Regions from separate parts of the Homo sapiens genome. Here all the other regions are linked to region 3. Evidence: promoter capture Hi-C in 16 types of primary human blood cells and fetal thymus (Javierre and others, 2016). All regions are on one chromosome and are shown on one strand. Each heading gives the region's core, a stretch centred on a gene start or on the middle of the fragment in contact. The rest is flanking DNA. Distances are from core to core; before and after follow the strand shown. Region 1 has its middle 11 kb from the start of TERF1. Region 2 overlaps JPH1 (junctophilin 1). Region 3 holds the start of STAU2 (staufen double-stranded RNA binding protein 2). Region 4 has its middle 9.8 kb from the start of GDAP1. Region 5 overlaps GDAP1 (ganglioside induced differentiation associated protein 1). Region 6 overlaps JPH1 (junctophilin 1).

Region 1 (2,700 bases), core at 100-2,599, 750 kb before region 3:
ACACACACACAAATCATAATAGAGGTAGGTAAGATAAAGTTGTCAAAAGAGATCAGGTACAAAAATGTTTGAAAACCAGGACAATGGAGAAAACTAGCAGTAGCTGATATTATTGAGCACTTATAAGTGCTTTCTTTAAATCATTGAATCCTCACAGCAACTCTATGCAATATCTTCTATCATGACCTCCCTTTTACAAAGAAGGAAACCAAGGCAAAGAGGTTGCTAGCTTGTCTAAGGTCACATATCTGAGTAGCGGGACCTGCAGTCACTCCCTGCTCTGAATGCGATATGATATGTAGATGAAGCCCCGTGAAGAATTCTAAGCACCACAAGAAGCACCCCTATAAACCAATCACTTGCTGCTGCTGATGCACTTGAACTCCACAATGCCCCTTCCTCGTGGCTTTCTAAGACCCCCAGCCAGGTTCACAACGGGGCTGAGAGTGGTCCTCTTGTCTCTTTTCAGAGATTTAACTGGCCAGAACTTGAGCATCCTCTTACATGCAAAACTTCATTGTCCCTTGGCATCAGAAGCTATTAATAAGATTTGCTCCTGATTCCAACAACTGTGACCTGAGACAAGTTAAAAATATTTTTTCTGGATCGTGAACCTTCTCTAAAATAAGACAAAATATTATCCTTTTCCATCTGAAATAATCCTGTTGTGACGAAGAATAATTTATCATGCTGTGTGTGACATCCTAAGTCATTAAATGGGAGGATCTGGCAGCCCTGCTTCATACACCCACGCACTTATCTACAAAAGTTGATATGCAAGAGAGCTTCTGGCTTTAAGTATTTAGCAGAAAGAGGAGATGGATCTCCAGCCGTAAGGAACAGAGACGAGGAACATGAACTCTGGCTAATGTCTACTCCCCTTGGGGAGGCCTTATTGGGAGAAAAGAGAATAATGTGTGTCAGGCCTCTGAGCCCAAGCTAAGCCATCATATCCCCTGTGACCTGCACGTATACATCCAGATGGCCTGTTCCTTGCCTTAACTGATGACATTCCACCACAAAAGAAGCGAAAATGGCCGGTCCTTGCCTTAACTGATGACATTCCACCACAAAAGAAGTGAAAATGGCCAGTCCTTGCCTTAAGTGATGACATTATCTTGTGAAGTTCCTTCTCCTGGCTCATCCTAGCTCAAAAGCTCCCCTACTGAGCACCTTGTGACCCCCACTCCTGCCCACCAGAGAACAACACCCCTTTGACTGTAATTTTCCTTTACCTACCCAAATCTTATAAAACGGCCCTACCCTATCTGCCTTCGCTGACTCTCTTTTTGGACTCAGCCCGCCTGCACCCAGGTGATTAAAAACCTTTATTGATCACACAAAGCCTGTTTGGTGGTCTCTTCACACAGACGTGAGTGAAAATGTGGAATCTGAGTGTCTGGTTTCAAGTTGTGTGTCCCTAACTTGCTAACTAGCTTTCTCACTTTCCAACCTCAGGTGATTTAATAACCCTCTCTGTGCTGCAGGTTCATCCTTTACAAAATTATAAGATAATAGTAATATCTACCTGATAAACTTGCTATGAAGATTAAATGAGTTAATACATATGGTACAGTTAGAAAGTTGCTGTCACCTGGCCGGGCGCGGTGGCTCACGCCTGTAATCCCGGCACTTTGGGAGGCCAAGGTGGGAGGATCACCTGAGGTTGGGAGTTTGAGACCAGCCTGACCAACATGGAGAAAACCCATCTTTACTAAGAATACAAAATTAGCTAGGCGTGGTGGCACATGCCTGTAATCCCAGCTACTTGGGAGCCTAAGGCAGGAGAATCCCTTGAACCCGGGAGGTGAAGGTTGTGGTGAGCCGAGATCACGCCATTGCACTCCAGCCTGGGCAACAAGAGTGAAACTCTGTCTCAAAAAAAAAAAAAAAAAAAAAAAAGAGAGAGAGAGAGAAAGTTGCTGGCAACTATTATACATGCAATAAATGCTAAGTATGCAGTATGGTCTGAATTGTGGTGTCACCCTCAAATTCATATGTTGGAACAGAATATCCAGCATGATATATTAAGAGTTAGGGCAGGCTGGGTGCTGTGGCTCACGCCTGTAATCCCAGCACTTTGGGAGGCCAAGGCAGGTGGATCACGAGGTCAGGAGATCAAGACAATCCTGGCTAACACGGTGAAACCCCATCTCTACTAAAAATACAAACAAATCAGCCGGGTGTGGTGGTGGGCACCTGTAGTCCCAGCTACTCGGGAGGCTGAGGCAGGAGAATGGCATGAACCTGAGAGGCAGAGCTTGCAGTGATCTGAGATTATGCCACTGCACTCCAGCCTGGGCAACAGAGCAAGACTCTGTCTCCAAAAAAAAAAGAGTTAGAGCCTTTTGGGAACTGATTAAGTCATGAGAACATCACCCTTGTATATGGAATTAGTGTCCTTATAAAAGAGGTTGGGCTGGGTACAGTGGCTCATTTCTATAATCCCAGCAATTGGGGAGGCTGAGGAAGTAGGGTCACTCGAGCCCAGGAGTTTGTGACCAGCCTAGGAAACATAGCAAGACCCTGGTCTATTCAAAAAAAGAAAAAAAAAAAAAGTCGAAGGGAACTCCTGCCTTGCCCCTTCTGCCAATTAAAAACACAAAAAGAAAATACCATCTTCGAAAAACAGAACAGGCTGTCACCAACACCTCAACAATCAGTGCCTTGATCTTAGACTTTCCAGCCTCCAGAACTTTG
Region 2 (2,700 bases), core at 60-2,559, 570 kb after region 3:
TCTGGCATATGTGACACAGGCAATAGTAGATATACAATGAAATACTAAGTGGGTCTGGTACTGTAAATGTCATATTCTGGGTAGATGTGAAGTCTTAACTTGACATCTATGAACTTCTGAGGAGGTGGGTGGCCCACAGTTTTCTCTGAAAGATTAACTCAAGAGGATAAGATAGTCATGTAAAACATTTCAGGCTAAGAAGCTTCCTATTGAATACTGGCCATCTCCAAATACCGCCATCTTAACAGGAATGGGAATGGAATTATTAGGAAATTTTGACTTTGACTTTTCCTTTGCCTATACAGGTAAAATTTAAATTCTAGGATGAAAGTTTCACAATCTGGCTTGAAGATACTAAAATAAACCACCTTATTTTTAATATTTTGTTGGTTAAAAGAATGCTATAATCACATCCTCCTAACTTTTGTCTATAGTGACAAGTTAATTTTGCTAGAACAATTTGCAGAGATGCTGTTTGATATCAATAAGTATCTGCACTTTTAAAACACAGCCATACCATCTTGGTAAATGTTTAACACTGATGGAAAATTAACAGCTAGTTTCTTTAAACTGTTATCTCCAAAAATAAGACTAGTACAGTATTTAGAATTTCCAAAAAAGTATGGCTTGAAAATCCAAGCTGTTTAAGGCAACAGCAATAATTAGAAAGTTTAAGTCTCTGCTTAACTGTCAAATAGGGAAGGGGGGGACAAGAGCATTGGCCACATTCCTCTCCTATTTTGTTAAATCACAGTATATGAAAGAATTCCTCCACAGAATTGCTAGAAACCAATTTGCAGTCAAACTGTTAGCAGTTCATCTGAAATTTAAAATAGGTTTAGTTTAGTCAATGAACCTAGAATAAGAAAGGGCCTATTTCTTTATGAAGCAGGTGGGTTCCAACTTCTCCCTGCTGCTCAAATAAAGTTCTAATTAGTTCCTCTTGATTCCTAAAATGTAGATGCATATTTCACAAGTATAAAAATTACTTTTACCAGTTTTAAACTGTGTTCATTTGGGAGCTAATTTTTTAGATTTAGTCATTTTAACTACACAATCTTGTAGTGGAAGGCATCCAGTTTAGGAGTTTCAGTCAAATTTGCACTGCACTATGCCAAACTTCAGTTTATATGCTCCGAATGGGTATGTGCAAGTATGCATCTAGTTAACAAAACGTTGTGTTTTCCCAGATATTTTCAATAGTTTTATGACAAGTGAAAAAACAAAGTACAGATCAGAATTAGCACAAAAAATTCTGGGCACCTAGACTTGGATTTCATGAGTATGATACTAACTTATTGTTAATATTCAGGGGGTTTCTATTTCAGCAACATGTAATACACAAATCACTAATAAAATAAGTGATACGTCTCACATGGAATTACTGCTTCCTTCCTCCTCCAGTTTAATGTCACCACAAAAAAACTCGGAATCAGATTTTCCCTGAATCTGATACAGGGTGTACAGGGATGGACATGTGGCGATGGGGAGAGTGCAAACAAAAACAAGCTAACTCCTTAGTGAGAACAGCAGAAAACAAGCTAATTTTTTAGTGATATTCCTATTTTGGCCAAAACCTTTGTATGAAATAAGTTACAGCAATAAACTTGCTTTAGACTCCCTTTTTATGATTGAGAACTTTCTAATGAAATAGTTACATATGAGACAGTAGAAAATCTATTAGCATAGAGTAGACATTCAGTAGTGATTTTTAAGGTTTTTCTTCCTAACTGTAGCATATTAGATTTTTTTTTTTGGTAGAAGAAGAAAACCACAGTACCACCCAGGATGATGCCAAGTTTTAAGTTTTTTTTTAAGTTTATTTTAAAACTGAAGGCAGATTATTCATAAAATCATTCTGGAGACTTATTTGGGTTTCTACGACATGTACACAGACAGCCTCTACTGTGCTATATATATTTTGATTACTAGGTATAATGAATACTCTAAACCAAGAGAGTGTGTTTAATGAATAGTATCTTTAAAAGGAGACGATTTTTAACCTTCCAAAACTGAAGAGAACCATCCCTGGCCTTCTTAAAAGATTATAAAATAATGCACACATTTAAAACAATAAATTTTGCCTTCTACTTTTGAGCATGGAATTTAGTTATATAGTAGAGCTGGGGCCTCCAACAAAATCCAGTCACAAACTGACATATTTACAGCGCTGTCAACCAGGTACTTTATGCCCATTCAGAACATTTAAGGGTCCCAATTAACTACTGTGAAACTCGGGACTCAGCCCCACATAAAACTATTAGAGAACGTTTTTTTCTTTTAATCCATGAGAACCATATGCTTAATTTATACTGTAGGATGAAAAGATGTCCTTTTTAGCAAGTTCTACCATTCTGCCATTTTGCATTTGAAACACGGCCCAAGTGTTCTGACTAAGTGAAGTGTACAAATTGTGTAAGCTTTTATATAAGCAATGGTATAAATGGGGTTGCAGTGGGCTGGAGAAACTTTTAATTGCATCCCTTTAATATCCTCCAACTCTGAGCTGCTTAATTCCAAAAAGTGATGTCGCCTCCTACAACCCTTTTCAACTAAATATGATTATGTTTATCAGGAAATGCACTTTGCTAAAGCATAAGCTATTCATGAATATCTTTCTCAGCGTATTACACAAGGAAATTCATCAGGTTTTGACACCTGTTTCAATAATGTATACTTTTCCTAATAAAAGAGGAACTT
Region 3 (2,700 bases), core at 147-2,646:
TTTCTCCTCCAAGGTTACTATCACCCTGCCTGTCCATCACAATTTTGATTTCAAGTATTCACGATGCTGGTCTGAAACACAGGATGCATCAGAAGCCAAGTAATGCTCAGCAAAAGTTCACCAAAATTGTGAAAGCAAACATTAAATAAAAAACGTTTTCAATTAACAGTAAAATATCTTTAAAGGATCATCTCTAGCCTTTCTTTCTGCAGGATCCACCCACTTTAAAATCCTTTGGTAAATTCCCAGGTCTACCCTAATTGAATGGTCCCTCTCTATCTGCTCAAGCAGTTCTTAACCCTTTGGAGTGGGGATGGGGGTAAGGGGACATCACAGCAAATATGGACCCTTACCAAAGAAAATTATTCACAAATGCAAAATTCTACACACATTTCCAAAGACTTCCAGAATCCCACGGCCATTACCCCCACCGCCTCCCTAAGAATCCCAGAGTGGCGTGCTTCTCAATGGCCTCTGCGGAGCACCCCCAGCCCCCAAGCCACAGCCCCCGGCTCGACCCCGAAGAGACTAGAGTTCCTGCTCTCACACAGCGGATTCCGTAACTGAGCTTTGTCTCCTCGCCCAACTCCCTTCACCCCGGCAAGGTCACTACCGCCAACTACCCCTTTAAGCCGAGCCATCACGGTAGGAGTTCGTAACAGCCACAGCAGAACTTGCCTGTCATAGGATATATTTTGTCCCCTCGGCCCCACCTACCCTCCCCATTTCGGCAAGTTACGTCTTTACCACTAGCCCATTCTACAGAAATAGCTGCCGCCGCCACCCTCCGGCGCGCCCCGGCCCCGCCGCTCCGCCTCCAGCGCCCCCAGGCCCATTTCCCGCAGACCCTCCCCGGGCCGCCCTCCCCTGCCCTACTCTAGGCGCTCCCTCTCCCTCGCAGCCACACCGTGGCTGCACTCGCCGTCCTCTCTTCCGGCCGCTACCACCCCGGCCCCCTAGAACCCCAGCCTCCCGCGCCCGCAGCCGCGTTCCTGTCTCCCCGACCTCCGCACCCCCACTTGGCCCGGCCTCCTCGCCTTCCTCCCGGCTCCTCCCCTCAGGACACCTGTGTCGTCCCACCCCCTCCACCACACACGCACCCCCCACCCCAATTCCTTCGCCTCCCTGTCCTCCCTCCCCCGCCGGTCTCCCCTCCCCGCTGCTGCCCCGAGAGCCCGATGTGGGAGGGAAGGCGCGGGGGAGGGGAGGCCGCGAAGGGGGCTGCTTTTCTCCGGGTTCCCCGTGCTGCGGAACTGCAGGGCTCCCCAGCGCCCTCTGCCTTCTTCGCCGGCGGCGCGGAAGTCGGGGTCTCCCGGACGCCCCCGATGAGGGTATTTACCTTCTTGCCGGGGACACTTTGCAGACGGCTCCAACATTGGCAAACACTACAGAGAACTGACCCCGCTCGGCCGCCGCCGGCTTCCACCCCTCGGGCTCCCCGCCCCCCGCCTCCGCCCGCCTCCGCCCGCCTCCCCGGCGCTCCCGCCGCGCCCTCCCGCGCTCGCGCCGCGCGCCCCCGCCTGCGCAGCCGCTCCCGCGCCCCAGCACGCCCGGCCGGCGCGCGCGCCCGGCACCGGCTCTACCTCCACTCCGCCTCCCGCCGGCCCGCGACCAAGCGCGGCCATTGTTCGCGACGCAGCTCCCGCCCCCTGGCGGCTGCCGGGCCCCAGCAGCTGCAGGCTCTGCGGGGCTAGCGGCGGCGAGCTGGGCCCCTGGGCGAGGGCCATTCCCGGGGGGCTTGGGCACGCGGGCGAGCGACTGCGCAAGGAGCGCGCCCGGTCCGCAGTCTCCTCGTCCCCGGCGCGACTCCCCGCCCCCTCGTCTGCCAAGGGTGGGCCTGGGGCAGCCCCTTCCACACCTGCAACTCGGCAACTTCCTTCCCCGCCCGACTGACCGTCTGCTCTTTCTGGTCCGCACCCTGTGCTCTGATTCCCCGCTCGTACCTTTCCCAGGCTCTCCGGCTGCCCCTCTGTGCTGTGCAGGGGACGCGCGACCATCCCGCGTCTGCTCCGGCCGCCGCTGTGCAACGCACGGTTTAGCGGATCTTGCACCTTTCTAGACGGGGGAGGGGGCGGGGAGGAGGTTGCTTCACCGTCTCGCCCAGCAAACACCAGGGATCCGTGATCACCTGCTCGCCAAGACCCGCGGCGTGGCCAGACCTCCTCTTCTACCGAAAATATTAGTCACATGAAAAAGAATCCTTGGAGCCAAAAATGAGAACCATTGAAAACAATGCCCTGAATCCTAGATTTATGAGGCAAGAGTGCCAGAAAACAGAAATTACGTCTTAATTCGTCCTGGTTTTGATGTGGATTACTTTTGTCTAGATAACTTCAACCCAGTTAAGCTCAATGAAACTGAACACTTCGTTTAGTAACCGGCACCAAAAATAATCTGACAAAGAAATTTCGAAATAGAACTATTAGTGTGTTTTCACAAACTTACTCGTTTGCAACGTTATTTCTAGGGTTTCTTCCCAGTGTCACTTCTCTGACTGAGAAATGTCTCCCAGGCCGGTGATTTCAGTCATCATCTAAAACCAATCTCATGTCTGCACCTGGGAAGGTAGTGTGTGTCCTGGTTAACCGCAAGGGCGCCAGAGTCAGATAACCAAGGCTGGATATCCGCTTGCTAACTGGTGAGGAGACCACGGGCATGTTACTTATCCTGTGCATCAAGAGGAGACTACATGTGATAGAT
Region 4 (2,700 bases), core at 151-2,650, 590 kb after region 3:
GTACTAGTGGGATGCTAACAGTACACGTTTAAAATGTAGGCCAACAGATTTTGAAGCTTTTGATGACATACAGCAGATAGATTTGGAAATGCCTAAGAACTTCTCATTTTAACTTTCCTCCTGATAGAATCTATTTGTATCACTGGTTTTAGTCTTGTAGACTTGGAGGGAGTGGTGAAAGATGAACAGGCAGGGCTCAGCCACAAGGGGAGAAAAACGTCATCCACCCCCCAGAATAGCAACAGCAATAAATATGGTCATGTCGCTCTTCTGCTGAGGCTAAAACGACAGACAGGATCACATTTACGGCACCCAGCAGGCCCACTGCTATGAGGGGTGGCTCAGGGCTTTGGAAGCAACGTGTACAAAAGTTGGTGCTGATTTCAGAGCTGTGACTTAGCACAGAAAGAAACAGGGCATAGGGTCTAGACCCCAACTCAGAGCTAGAAGGGGCTTGGCACCCTCTTGGCCACAGGGGAGGACATTCTAAATCAGCTTTCAGGACAACTGGCTCAGGGCTCTTGAGAGCGGAGCTGAGAACTTCCCTGCATGTCTGCCTGAGAACTTGCTGTTGTCTGCAGCTGCCACAGCCGTGAAGGCCCAGATGTAATCAGGAAGGTAAAAAAGAGGGCTCTCATTGATCATCAGTTATTTAAAGAGGGCCCATCAGATTTCAGTGACTTCTTTGCACAGAATCAGCACCTTTGCTCTGGGAAGTCTAACAGGAAGGAATATCTCCCTTCAAAACTCATCAAGGCTTCCCTTCCAGACCAAGCCACTGGATTTTAGCCATTAAGGCTCTAGATGCCTCAACTTCATCTCTCTATTTTCATATATATTCCAATTTCATATACTAAATGTCCATATCTCTGGGGAGTTGTGTTTTTACCATCTTCTTTTGCCACTTGAAACTGGTAGGATGGGGCTTATGCATTTTCATAACTTGCATACAGCAGGAGTCTCTTAGGCTGAATAGTTTTCAAGCTAACATATGTAGCTGATTCTTCATATGTGCTTTGGAAACCAAGGCATCACCTGAATTTGACCAGTTTCCCTTTTTTCTGTTAAACTTCCCTGCTCCAAAATGATGCAGTTTCATAAAGTGAAGCTTTTCCGCTCTGCCATCTTTGTGGTTCACCGACTTTTCCAACCTGTCCCCGCAGGGAATCCCTGGAAGCAGGTTCACTTTGGCCACATCACCCCTTTCTCTCATGGAACTTTAGTAACCACAGACTCAACTCCGTGCTTTCATTTGTTTCAATTACATACTGAGGATTTAAATTGATCTTTTCTTTATGGATTGCAATATTACTTTTATTTGAAAAATATAGTACTTAAGTGAAAGCCAATGTTGTTTTACACTTTGGTGTCTCTGTAAAATTCAGCACTATATTCTATTGTCACTGTTATCTTATGCTTCTTTAGGATCTTATTAAGACAAACAAGGTAAGTGAAGTATGTTTTTATAGTACTGTAATCATTCTCATATTTGTGCTGTCACTGTCCTTGGTAACGGGTGGTTAAGAAAAAAAAAATCATACCAGTGTGTTGAAGCTGGTGCCAAAGAAACATAAATGATTATTGCTGCTCATTGTCTGCTGCTGCCCAGAACTTTAACTTGCCCTATTTATACAGTTACAAAGCAAAATCTTACTTAGAGAAACCTTTGCAACATTAGCATTTTCTTTCTTTAAAGCTTATGTCTCTGAGTTTTTATGCCGTGTTTCTCACGTAGCCAGAGACAATGCAGACATAAATTAACTTTTCTGTGTATTATTTAGTGACGAAAAGAACACAACAGCAAGGATGTTTGAAAAATAAATTCCAGTGTATTCTTAAATACTCTAATTTGAATGACAAAGCTATATTCCAAATGATCTTAAGTCTCTGGAAAGATTCCTTTAAATATGAAAAGAGAATGATAAAATAAGATGTCCAGGAAGACTACTTGAATCATTTACTGGGAAATAGCAAGAAAAAGGCACTCTCCACTGAGAGGATAGTTAAAATGTACAGAAACACATTTTAAATTAGTAAGAAAGCACTTAACTTTAGGAAATATAACTAATTAAAAGCTGCAATTTCAAACCTAAGCATTAAGTATCCTCTGTGCAGTGTGCGTTTCTAAGATTGTGTCTAAAATATCCTACAGGCTTTTATAGTTGCATTTATAAATATAACTCTTAATTATTCTTAATAAGACAAATGTTTGTGATACTATTAGTTTTATTCAAATATTGGATGACAGTGGGAAGTGCCTCCTTTTTTTCTCCTAGATTTTTCTTACTTTCATACTATAAGTGATTTTTGCAGAATATTAATATAACCATTGAGATGTTCTTTTAATGATTTTCAACAGGCTTAGCATGAAGTCAAGAAAAGAATCTGTGGAAATATGAGTAGTATTTAAGAATTTTTATTATTTGTTATTTCTTTCATCAACTGTAATTTCCAGCTAGTGGTGATTATTTCACATGTATTTTTGAAGTATAAATACCTAAAATTCATTGTAAACCATTAGAGAGAATTGCCAAAAATGAAGTTACAGAGTGCAGCCAATCTGGCAGGATACACTGGAGAACACATTATTAGCTGACATTTACCCAGAGTATTCAAAAAGTCAGTTATTTTTACCATTCTATCATTATTATCTATTATACTTCTTATGTGCCATGTGCTAAAATTGTGTTAGTTAACATG
Region 5 (2,765 bases), core at 266-2,765, 620 kb after region 3:
TTTTGAGACCTAGCATGTCTCATGGTCACTAAAAGAAGATTGGGAATAGGGTTGTTGAGTTTGCTTCATGGATGTGCATGTTATGGATCGATCCATGAACCAGTCGGATTAATCTGTGCTTCACTTGCTCAATTGGACATTTATTGTCTATAGGACCTGATTTATCAGCTCTTGGCTTTGAGGGCCAATCTTGGGTAAAACTCAGAAGAGTGGATTATGGAAGAGTAAAGAATATAACATGTTCTCATGAACAGATGGACTAGGAATCTGAAAACCTGGGATCTGCCTAGGATTATGGGCAGTTGAGTTCATGTTACTGGTCCTTAATTGTTGTTTTCGTTATTTGAGGAAACTGGACTAGAGGGTGTCTAACTATTACTCTGTCTCTATGTTCAGTGATAGTAGATTTATTGGGATTGAGTTGTGACATCCAGCTTTCTGCCTTCCTCCTGTCATGAGAATAGTCAGTGCATGATCTGTGGAGCAGGAGGTGTGCTTTATAGCAGAGATAATTGGAGATAAGAAGGGAAAGGATTGTGGCAGTGGTCACACTTTGGGAATGTTGATCAGAAACACTCAAACTCAGATCTTCTAAATCCAGAAACCATGTGTTCCCCATTATGTGATACTCACCTTTATTATTCTTATTATTCTTTTTTTCCTTTTTGATACCCCTCCTTTTCCTCTCCTCTCCCTTCCCTTTTCATCTCTTCCCTTTTCTCCCTTCTCTTCCTTTTTCTCCACTGCCCTCTCTTCCTGCTTCTCTTTCCTCTTATTCCTCCTCCTCTTCATAAATACCCTTTATAGTATTTGAAACAAGAGTTTTGACTATAATTCTATGACCTATAGTTAATATTTTTTAAAAATAAGGCTTTTTCCTCCCTTCATATAGGAGTTCATTATAGAAAGCTTGAAAGGTAGAGGAAGGCGGAGCAGCAAGCCTGCACTGAGCACTGTAAAGTGCTGGGCCTTGCTCTAAGTGCTTCCCATGAAGCTTCTCATTTAGTCTTCATGGCAGATATTCTTTGTTTTTTTCTTTTCTTTTTTTTTTTGGATGGAGTCTCGCTCTGTTTCCATGCTGGCGTGCAGTGGCATCATCTCGGCTCACTGCAACCTCTGCTTCCTGAGTTCAAGTGATTCTCCTGCCTCAGCCTCCCGAGTAGCTGGGATGACAGGCATGCGCCACCACGCCCAGACAATTTTTGTATTTTTAGTAGAGACGGGGTTTCACCACGTTGGCCAAGATGGTCTCGATCTCTTGACCTCCTGATCCTCCCGCCTCGGCCTCCCAAAGTGCTGGGATTACAGGTGTGAGCCACCGCGCCCAGCCGGCAGATACTCTTATGGTTCCATTTGAAAGGTGAGGAAACTGAGGCATAGACAGGGTAAGCCCAAGGCAGAGAAGCAGGGCATGAGCCCCAGAGCTCATGCTCTTGTCATTGAGTTTCTCTGCTTCTCCTTGTTACTGGTGTAGAAGGGAGAAAATAATTTTCTGTTTCCAAAATGTTTTTATTATCAGGCCAAATTGGAAACACAGAGTCTGAGCTGAAGAAACTTGCTGAAGAAAACCCAGATTTACAAGAAGCATACATTGCAAAACAGAAACGACTTAAAGTAAGCCAATCAGCTGTCCTCAGTTGACATACACTGCACGGAGTAAATGTTCTACTTTTTGTAAAGTACCACTATTTCTAGAATATCTTCTTTTAAATATTGCAGTTCACCAGTACACATGTTACCTTTGGCTTATGTTCTCCTTTTAGAAAGAATTTTTTATTAGACTTGATATTGAAACTTGATGACAAGTGCTTAACAAGCAGATATTGAGCATGCTGGTTGCCAAAAAAGTTATGAAATGCAAAGGAAGTTCATAACATATTCTAGAATCTGTCATTTCAGGTATTCCACCACTGGAAGTCCTCGCTAGACCTACATCCCTCCATGTGTCGCCCTGACTTGCTTTGCCCCCTGAGGAGTGTGCTTTATGGTCAGCCTTTCTCCTTCTGTTGATTCCTTCCCCGGGCCCAGCAACTATTGCAAGCTTCTCTCATATTAAAAGTGTAGAAAACAGCAGCACTCCCAACCCTCCCCAACTTCCCACCTTCCTTTATCCTATCGTAGCTAAACGAGCTCCTCAGAAGAAACACCTGCACTCACAGTCACTTGACTGACTCTCCACTCGCCGTTTAACTCCTTCACTCGGACTTCTTACTCATCCCTGACCCTTCAGCTACTCTTTCAATTACGGCTGCTAGAATTCTTTTCCTGAGTTGGGCTTGGCAGATGGCTCTTCGTGTCCCTCCCATTCTTTGCCTTCTGTGGTCATCTGGCCTCATAGGAGCTGCCAGTGAGTGGTGGGTCTGCTCCTGGGTCATTTTCACAGCTGGGATATTTCCCTTCAACTTAGCTCTCTCTCTCTCTTTTTTTTTTTTTTTTTTTTGCTGAGTTTTTCTATTTCTTCTCGTTGTCTAAAATAGGCTGAACTCTGTAAGAGTTTGTATCTGCTTTACCTAGATTTATTTTTTTTAAAGGTGCAAATAATATGTTTGGTTTCTTTTTTTGGTGGTTAATTAGTCAAAGCTGCTTGATCATGACAATGTCAAGTATTTGAAGAAAATTCTTGATGAGTTGGAGAAAGTCTTGGATCAGGTTGAAACTGAATTGCAAAGAAGAAATGAAGAAACCCCAGGTAGGTTCTCATTTATATTCTTTCTCTCTTTTCAACATCAGTATTATTCATGGGAACATTCTTAGGTCTCACCAAA
Region 6 (2,700 bases), core at 182-2,681, 560 kb after region 3:
GATGGAGCCTTACTGGCCCCCCGCCCCATTTCCCCAACCAGCCGTATACCGGGAATGAATCACTACATTTTCTAATTGAATAATTTATCACCCATATACTGGGAATGAATGAACCTTTTTCATTAACCTTAATAGGGGTATTAGAGTATCATCCACACAACATCTCAGACTTGCCTCTGTTCCTAACCCACTACTTGCAGTCCATCAAGTCCTGCTAATTTTATCCCTTTTGTCTCTGCCACCCTGCCCTCAACCAGGGTCTTTTATCACCTCCTCCACAGACCAGGCCTCCGGTCCTGGCCCCACTTAAATTCTTTCTCCATGAAGCAGGCAGACCATCCATTCAAAGGCAGATGGCTCCCTTCTCAAATGCCTTTGAAGACTCCCCAAAGCCAAAAGCAGAAAATGCAGCTCCCAAACCTTGGGAATTTTGTTTCTTATCATATCCTCCCGATGCACTTTCCAAATTTTAGTGTGCCCAAGAATAACCTGAGAAGTCTGTAACAAATGCAAGTTTCTGGACCTTATGCAAAGAAACATTAATTCAGTACTGGGTGGAGGACTAGAGAATTTTAAGCACCCCTTGTGATCTGCTGCAGTGGGCGGACAGATCGCTCCTGGAGAAAGCGTTCTTCCACTATCCAACTGCTTGCAGGAACTCACACTGTACACTTTCATTCCACTCCACCTTTGCTCAGGATCTTCCTCCAATATGCAACACTGGCCACTGTTTGCTCCCTAACTTCCACTCATTCTTCACCTGCACAGGCTCAGCCTCATCCCTGTAAGCCCCATATGCCCTCAGTGTTCTTCCCTCTTTTGCACTGTCATGGTTTTTTTCTTAGAATTTACCATGTTATACTGACCTTATCTTTTTATGATTGTTTGGCTCACAAGATTTGTGGCTGTTGAATGAACAATGTCTGTTAAATGAAACAGTGGCCAAATGAAGTCTATGACTAAATAATACTGTTCCCAGACAGATCTTCTTTTATGAGCCTAAGCAGGGTACATGGGTTCAAAAAAAATTCCTATCCCAATTCTCAAAACCCAGTGGAGGGGAAGGGCTTGGGGCTCTGACGCTGCCGTGTGCTTGCCATGTGAATTTCCTATGCCTCAGTTTCCTACCAACTCACAGGGTTGCCATGGGGATGAGAGGAGATGACAGATGTCAAATTCACACAGCAGGTAACCACTCAAGACCTGTTGGGTCTTTTTGTGTGTAGCCAAAAGGTATCACCCAAATTACTGACCTCAGACCACAAGAAGAGAACAATGTGCACCAGTGCATAACACACTTAGGGGAAACCTAGCAGCATCTACATTGTTTCCTTAGGGAAACCTAGCAGCATCTACATTGTTTCCTTATCTGGAAACACTGCCAAAACATTCATTTACTGCAAATTGCTAACTTTAATGTTTCTGTACACAAATACTGCTAATAAGATCCTGCTACCACCCAAAATTGTATCTTATGGACTCTAGGTAGAAATAATTTTTTAAACTTTTTAAAGAAACCACTAGTAATTTTCCCTTTTGCATTATAAAATTTGTACATATATTTTCTATGCTCTATTGATAGCATTCCTGTTATCAGGTGTAAAATTACTTATTGGAAGAGACATTTTATTTCTTAATGCAGTCCATGCCTGCTATGGAACTTGAGTGTAATCGCTAAGGACTGACAGGGCTTAGGCAAGGAGGGGGACATGGGAGAAGGCATTCAGGCAAGGAGTGTTGCTGGTGCAAAGAGCTCCAGGAAAGTGCCTGTGACAAGCTCACCCAGGATGGGTCATAGGTGCCTCTCAGTGGGTCCCTCCAACCTGCAGCCTCATAGCACCTGCCAGTTGCACAAAGGTACTGTGAACCTGGTAGGGTATTTGCTTTTAATGACAGGTTTTGTTTCTTATTCATCTCTGTATTCCCAGGGCCTAGTGCCATATTTGGACAGAGCTGGCACTAAATAAATGTTTGCCAAATGATGTTTCTTTAGCATAATAATTTGTGAGAGTGATATTTTGTTCCAGTAGGTTGCCAAGAAAAGAAAAAAAAAAAAAAAAACAGTCCAACAGAGCTTGCTCACTGGGTAGGTCCCTTGAGCACAAACCTTAGAAAGCATAACTTCACAAATTCAAGAATAGAAATTCAGATACCTGAATTGCATTGTCATAAGGCAACAAATTCCTAGTCACTTAATGTGAGAACTGCTTTACTTGTACTTCTTAAAAAGAGCTGTGTCTAGTATTACATACAAGGATTTCCTCTTTCTCTGCATGTCCCGTAAGTCTTTCCCAGGGTTTGGCTCCAAGCTCTGCAAGCACAGCTCAAATCTCTGAGTTCCAAATACATCTTCCCCCATTATCTTTTAGGCTAGCATCTTGAAATTCAAGAAGCCAAAAATCCAAACTTATCTTCCTCCCTAAATCTGTCCCTTCCTGTCTGGTATCCTTCTGAGTAAACAGTACCACCATCCATTAGTTGGCTAAGCCAGGAACTTGGAGCCACTCTGATGACTCCTTTTCTAGGCTTACCATGCTTAACTCAACCAGCCACAGGTCCTAGTGAATCTGCTTGGGAGGCTCTCATTCAATCATTTGCTTCTTTCCATCCCACTGCCACAGCTTAGCCCAACACATAGGCTATCACTTAGATCACTAGTTAGCAGATAACTATTTTTTTATTTTTAGAGACAGGGTCTTG

What was found. The method cuts DNA at HindIII sites, captures the fragments that hold promoters and counts their contacts. A CHiCAGO score of 5 or more calls a contact.
Region 1: a contact is called between a fragment that was not itself captured here and the fragment with the promoter of STAU2 in region 3, in 1 of 17 cell types (neutrophils). The highest score is 5.9, in neutrophils.
Region 2: a contact is called between a fragment that was not itself captured here and the fragment with the promoter of STAU2 in region 3, in 2 of 17 cell types (fetal thymus and M2 macrophages). The highest score is 10.6, in fetal thymus.
Region 4: a fragment that was not itself captured here is called in contact with the fragment with the promoter of STAU2 in region 3 in 3 of 17 cell types (fetal thymus, M0 macrophages and naive CD4 T cells); the score reaches 7.7 in fetal thymus.
Region 5: a fragment that was not itself captured here is called in contact with the fragment with the promoter of STAU2 in region 3 in 1 of 17 cell types (naive CD8 T cells); the score reaches 7.8 in naive CD8 T cells.
Region 6: a contact is called between a fragment that was not itself captured here and the fragment with the promoter of STAU2 in region 3, in 1 of 17 cell types (fetal thymus). The highest score is 6.6, in fetal thymus.

What each region holds. Positions count from the first base shown.
Region 1 is chr8:72,996,946-72,999,645 of GRCh38, forward strand. No RefSeq gene overlaps it. Among named protein-coding and RNA genes, the nearest start is that of TERF1, 11 kb to the right of the region's middle. RefSeq lists an enhancer at 132-743. The HindIII fragment of the contact is 4,004 bases long and covers 1-2,700 here.
Region 2 is chr8:74,317,249-74,319,948 of GRCh38, forward strand. All of the region lies in intron 1 of JPH1 (junctophilin 1), which reads right to left. Among named protein-coding and RNA genes, the nearest start is that of JPH1, 2.9 kb to the right of the region's middle. The HindIII fragment of the contact is 2,218 bases long and covers 201-2,418 here.
Region 3 is chr8:73,745,444-73,748,143 of GRCh38, forward strand. STAU2 (staufen double-stranded RNA binding protein 2) reads right to left here and starts at 1,397. Exons shown (of 15, transcript NM_001164380.2): 1 at 1,340-1,397. RefSeq lists silencers at 800-859, 970-1,149, 1,440-1,529, 1,610-1,899. The HindIII fragment of the contact is 14,890 bases long and covers 1-2,700 here.
Region 4 is chr8:74,339,270-74,341,969 of GRCh38, forward strand. No RefSeq gene overlaps it. Among named protein-coding and RNA genes, the nearest start is that of GDAP1, 9.8 kb to the right of the region's middle. The HindIII fragment of the contact is 588 bases long and covers 1,107-1,694 here.
Region 5 is chr8:74,360,365-74,363,129 of GRCh38, forward strand. GDAP1 (ganglioside induced differentiation associated protein 1) reads left to right here. Exons shown (of 6, transcript NM_018972.4): 4 at 1,520-1,614; 5 at 2,575-2,689. Among named protein-coding and RNA genes, the nearest start is that of GDAP1, 11 kb to the left of the region's middle. The HindIII fragment of the contact is 1,047 bases long and covers 993-2,039 here.
Region 6 is chr8:74,300,916-74,303,615 of GRCh38, forward strand. All of the region lies in intron 2 of JPH1 (junctophilin 1), which reads right to left. Among named protein-coding and RNA genes, the nearest start is that of JPH1, 19 kb to the right of the region's middle. RefSeq lists an enhancer at 153-654. The HindIII fragment of the contact is 3,913 bases long and covers 1-2,700 here.